Regions from separate parts of the Homo sapiens genome. Here region 2 is linked to region 1. The links are contacts of gene promoters, found by promoter capture Hi-C in human tissues and cell types (Jung and others, 2019). All regions are on one chromosome and are shown on one strand. Each heading gives the region's core, a stretch centred on a gene start or on the middle of the fragment in contact. The rest is flanking DNA. Distances are from core to core; before and after follow the strand shown.

The links. Contacts are between HindIII fragments. The study calls those that stand out against the background at their distance.
Region 2: a contact is called between a fragment that was not itself captured here and the fragment with the promoter of NUP43 in region 1, in 1 of the 25 tissues and cell types used here (aorta).

What each region holds. Positions count from the first base shown.
Region 1 is chr6:149,745,044-149,748,124 of GRCh38, reverse strand. NUP43 (nucleoporin 43) reads left to right here and starts at 1,596. Exons shown (of 8, transcript NM_198887.3): 1 at 1,596-1,749; 2 at 2,063-2,185. The coding sequence starts at 1,630. RefSeq lists an enhancer at 1,227-1,286. The HindIII fragment of the contact is 10,037 bases long and covers 1-3,081 here.
Region 2 is chr6:149,221,265-149,224,171 of GRCh38, reverse strand. It overlaps a transcript of TAB2 not described here. Among named protein-coding and RNA genes, the nearest start is that of TAB2-AS1, 35 kb to the left of the region's middle. The HindIII fragment of the contact is 6,138 bases long and covers 1-2,907 here.

The DNA.
Region 1 (3,081 bases), core at 347-2,846:
CCAGGCTGGTCTTGAACTCCTGACCTCGTGATCTGCCTGCCTTGGCCTCCCAAAGTGCTGGGATTACAGGCGTGAGCCACCGTGCCTGGCCAAAACAGTGTTCTTTACTTCAATATTAAACATGAATAAAATTGTTGATTTGGGACTGTAACCCACTTAATATTTTCCATTTCATCTTTCTACAGTTTCTTGATGATCTTCCATTTGGAGAAAAGAAAAAAGTCAAATCCTTGATAGGAAACTGGTAACTCTAAAGCTGACCCAGATGGATTGCATTTACATGCAGTGCTTCCGTAAACTGTCCCTGTGAAGTAGGACTACCAATATCACATAAAAACAACAGTAGCATAATGGCCCTTTTTAAAGAAATAACCAACATACAGTTATGAATACCTATAGTGTAAAAGAGCTTCATTTTTTAGTTGAATAAGTCATATCTCTTGTATTCAGTAGGATTTACATTCTAATGGGGGAGGAATATGCATCTAAAGAAAACTAACATAAGATATATCCAAAATATATGTCATTAGTGGTCTAGATATCAAATGCTAGCTCACGCCTGTAATCCCAGCACTTTGGGAGGACAAGGCAGTTGGATCACCTGAGGTCAAGAGTTCGAGACCAGCCTGGCCAATATGGTGAAATCCCGTCTCTCCAAAAAAAAAAAAAAAAAATTAGCCAGGCATGGTGGCGCACACCTGTAGTCCCAGCTACCCTGGAAGCTGAGGTGGGAGAATCACTTGAACCTGGGAGGCGGAGGCAGAGGTTGCAGTGAGCTGAGATTGTACCACTGCACTCCAGCTTGGGCCACAGAGACCCTGTCTTAAAAAAGAAAAAAAATGGTGTTGATTTAGATCAACATTGGCTGGGGTCGTCAGGAAATGGTAAAGGAAAGAACAGATCCTTGAAGGATAGGCAGGATTCTGAGGAGTAAAGAGGAAGGGAAGAATATTATAGGTGTAACCAAAAGCACAGAAGGAACCTAGAAAACTGATTCCTGGGCCGTTGACAATAGGTATCACAAACTTCATTCTTAATCATGCACGTAATTGAATTGATCAAAGCTAGGCAATTGGCATCAAAACTAAAACTGGAGTCTTTCAGAATTCCAACTCCAGGCTCTGACAGTGTGTATTAACTTTGAAGCAAAGTATTTGTTTGGGAGACAAGAGGGAGAGGTTTGGGATAGTAGGTTGGCACTTTATTCGAGGTACTTCCACGAGTATTTAAGGATTTTTGAATCGTTTTCTATGCGCAGTGACCTGCAACTGCTTAGGTGTGGTTTCAAGGTGGTTTCTACTGCATTGTTTTTGTTCTGTTTTTGCACTTAAATTTTACACTGCACAATTATTGAACACAAGAAAATACTGACATTGCAGATTAGGAGCAAGTCCTACTGCTCAAAGGCCAAAGCGCTCTTGCCTTTGCTCAGAGCTGCTCTGTGAGATGGGTGGGCCTCTCAGTCTAGGTACTGACTGTGCCCACACTGGCTATCGACGAGAATTGACTCTCTGCAGCCACCGTCTCCGTCCTAAAGTCCCATCCAATCAGGGTTCCGCGGGAAGAGGCGGTGCTGAGAGGCGCGTACTGTGCTTGCTTTTTGCAGTACCTGCTGCGGCCGCTTTCGGCATGGAGGAAATTTATGCGAAGTTTGTGTCCCAGAAAATCAGCAAAACCCGCTGGCGACCGCTGCCTCCGGGAAGTTTACAGACCGCGGAGACGTTCGCTACAGGATCTTGGGACAATGAGGTATCGCCGCTGATAGGGACGAGCCCCTACCTCCTCCCTCTCTCCGGTTGAGCTGACCCCTGGCCTTCCGCGCGCCAACTCCCACCTTCTGGTTCTTCTCGCACTTTTAGGTCCCCCGGACCCCTGTCTCAGGCGCGGTTGCTCCGTAGCTCAGAGCCGGTGATGGCATGCCTGAGCCTCGTATCTCGTTGTGTTTTAAACTCACCATACCATTTGAGATGTTTTGGAGCAACATTTCCGGACGGGAGCACAACTTTTATTTTCCGAGAGTTGACGTTTATGTCATCTCAAGACAAAACTTTCTGTTTTACAGGAAAATTATATTTCACTGTGGTCTATTGGAGATTTTGGAAACTTGGACTCTGATGGAGGGTTTGAAGGAGACCATCAGTTATTGTGTGATATCAGACACCATGGTGATGTAATGGATTTACAGGTAAATCTGTGTAGCATCCAAAAGCTAACTTTGAAAGTCCTGAGTAATACATTTAAACAAGCAGAGCATCATAAAAGTTGTCTGGTGTCACCCCTCGTTTACAGAAAACTGAGTGCTCTGTAAGTTATGATTTGCCCAACATCATTTAGCCATTTAGTGGCAGAAAAAGGACTGGGAAAGGGGATGTAGATTTAATCATACTTTTTTATTAATTGACTGTCGACTATGTGCTAAATACCGTTTGGGGAGCTTTACAAAAATTAATTATTGTTGCATGCCAGTGAATCAAGTATCGTTACTTTGTTTTACTAATGAGAAAATTGAGACTAATATATCTTGAGCATGTACTATGTGACAGATACTGTGCAGGGGGATAACATCATTTTGTTTTTTGAATTCTCATAACAACTCCCTAAGTAGAGATTAGTGCTCCCGTTTTAAAGATTTACCACGATTTAGTGAACTTAACTTGGCCAAAGTCTCAAAACCAGTAATGAGTGGTGGGGATGAAATTGAGTTTTCTTTTTTTTTTTTTTTTCCAAGATGGAGTCTCGCTCTGTCACCCAGGCTGGAGTACAGTGGCATGATCTGAGCTCACTACAACCTCCGCTTCCCGGGTTCAAGCGATTCTCCTGCCTCAGCCTCCCGGGTAGCTGGGACTACAGGCGCAGGCCACCATACCCGGCTAATTTTTTGTATTTTTAATAGAGACGGGGTTTCACCATATTAGCCACGATGGTCTCTATTTCCTGACCTGGTGATTTGCCTGCCTCGGCCTCCCAAAGTGCTGGGATTACAGGAGTGAGCCATGGCGCCCGGCCGAAATTAAGTTTTCAAATCCTGGTGTGGAGAGCCCCTGCATTTTCCATAGAAAGCTACCTAGCCCTGGTGCGCGC
Region 2 (2,907 bases), core at 233-2,732, 520 kb after region 1:
ACATCATTTTCTTCCAAGGTCAGCTGTAGTTACTGCACTGAGAACTGTCCAGGCATATTGAACTTTGGAACTGGGTCCAACATGCCCCTTTAAAAGGTGATCACATTGTTTTTCCCTGCTTTCCATTTCTGAAAAGATGAAGTTTTGGCCAGTGGGTACTCTACATATCTGGCTGCAAAGAGGTTACTAGGAGCCAAGCAATGTGGTGCCTAATTTCAGCATTCACTTAAGTAAAGTTATTTATGACAGTCTCTACAGTTTTTTTTTTTCTTTTCCTAAAGGGGGAGGTGTGTAGTCTCAGCCAGATTAAAGGAATATTTACATTCAGCCTCAGCTGCTGATGCTTTTAAAATATGGCTTTGAAGGTTTAAACTAGGGATGGTATATAAAAAATGGAATTACATGTCCAGAAAATGCAAGCAGTCATTGAAAGCATCACTAAATCAAGTACTCAAATGGTAATACAGCTTAACATTTTTTTACATAAGCAGCTGAAACAACATGAGAACTCTCTAAAACGGTAGGGGCAATCAGTCTGTATCAGGCATTTAACCCCCAAAGCCACAGAAAACCTGCATAATGGGGACTGGAGTTGAGAGAATTGTCATTTTTATCCATCCAGCTTTTCAAATTGAAAGTATTTTCCAACAGATTAGGACAGGCCGGGAATCTGGATCATACTCTACAAAATAGCAAGACAATGGACAGCAAGAACACAGGCTATAATTTGGAAAATCACAGGGGTTCTTAGAATCATTTCATGTCAGAGCTGGACGAGTCTTAGAAATCAGTTGTTTTAATTTCTGTTTAGCTGCACAGATTCTGCAAACTAAAACAAACAAAAGAGGTACTGGAAAAGACTGACTGAGATGTCCTCATCGACAGGTCACAAAGCTCTGAGAACCAAATTCCACCACAGAAACATAAAACAGACTCAGGTATCTGTAATAAAATAGAGCTGGTGAATCCTCATTGTCTTACCCAAAAAGCTTTTTGTGAAGAAACATTCCTTTTGAATTTAATAAGATAGTCTTTTGAGTTTGTTTTTTGTAAACTCAATATATTTCAATATTTCATGTGGCATGCTTGTTGCTACTTAACAAAAAAGAATTTTTTTATTAGACTTGATCTTAGTTTACAAAATGAGTTTGGTACAGGAAATAATGAATAGAAGGGGGCAGTTATCACAATCTAATAGAAAGATGGATTTATAATACTCTCTTTTTTTGGTTAACTTTGCTTATTAATTAGTAATTCCTAACAGATGTGATATGGATTACTTAGGAAAAAGTGATTCTAGAAAAGTAGCTTTTCTAACTGCATAGAAACCTGAGATGTGAAAGAGAGAGATTGAGAGAGAGACACAGTCTTGCGCTGCTGCCTATGGCCAGGCATCAGCAAGAAAAGTGTAGGTCACACTTTGAATCATCTGTGAGTTCCTGATTTTCAAAGGGAGTAATTGTTATATAGTGTATTAGCCAGGGATCTCCAGAGAAACAGAACCAATGGCACATATAGAGATATGAAAAAAAAGTTTCTTTTTTTTTTTTTTTTGAGACAGAGTCTCGCTCTGTTGCCCAAGCTGGAGTGCAGTGGGATGATCTCAGTTCAGTGCAACCTCCGCCTCTCAGGTTCAAACAATTCTCCTGCCTCAGCCTCTTCAGTGGCTGTGACCACAGGTGCCCACCACCATGCCTCGCTAATTTTTATATTTTTAGTAGGGACAGGGTTTCACCATGTTGGCCAGGCTGGTCTCCAACTCCTGTCCTCAAGTAATCTGGCTGCCTTGGCCTCCCAAAGTGTTGGGATTACAGGCATGAGCCACCACGCCTGGCCAGGAAAGGTTTATTATGAGGGATTGGCTCGTGTGATTATGGAGGCTGAAGAGTCCCACAATCACCTGTTTGCAAGCTGAAGGCCCAGGAAAGCTGGTGGTGTAATTCCAGTCCAAACTGGAAGGCCTGAGATCCAGAGAGGCCGATGGTGTAAGTCACAGTCATAATCTGGAGGCCAGAGAATCAGAAGTGCTGATGTCCAAGGGAAGGAGAAAATGGCTGAATGGCTGTTCCGGGTTAGAGAGAGTGAATTCTCCCTTTCTCTACCTTTTTGTTCCATTCGGGCCGTCTACAGATTGGATAAGGATCACTCACATTGGTGAGGGCAATTTTTACTCAGTCTACTGACTCAAATCTTAGTCTCTTCCAGAAATATCCAGGCATCCTTTAGTCCAGTCAAGTCGACACATAAAATTAGCCATCACACATACATTTATGTGGTCAAGAACGGGTGAGTAACTTTGCCTAAGTCTGGTAGTGGGAATGGAAATCAGGGGTTGGAATGCTGGCATTTCCCAACATCAGACCTGGGCTCAGACAATCAGAAACTCACTTCTCCCCTCCTTCATTCCAGGACTGATTATCTAGCAGAGCATATTCTACTTAGGCTTCATAAACAAAGTCCTCCCTTTGCCCTTGCCCTTCTTCCTAGACTACACAGAAGGACTTTTACCTGGCGAGTTAAGAGCCACAATCAGAGAGTGCGTTAAGTGTTTCACTGTGAGAAGGACAGGGACAGAAAAAGCCTGGCTTTTGAGAGTTCTCTCTCAGTTGGCTGTAGCAGTGGCTCTCTGTGATGCCCCAAGCCCTTTAAGGGGAGCCATGAGGTCAAAACTATTTTTATGATAACACGGAGATGCTATTTGCCTTTTTTACTGGGTTGACTTTGCACTGATGATGCAGTAGCCATGGAGGCGGATGAAAATGGCTGTGTTTTAGGACAAGTCAAGGCAATGGCTGGCAGCAAGCTGTGGTAGCAGTCATTGTGCTCATTGTTACACTCTGGCTTGTAAAATATGCTAGTGTCACTTAAGAATGCCCTTAGGAAGCAGTAGAAATTAATTGTAGTAAT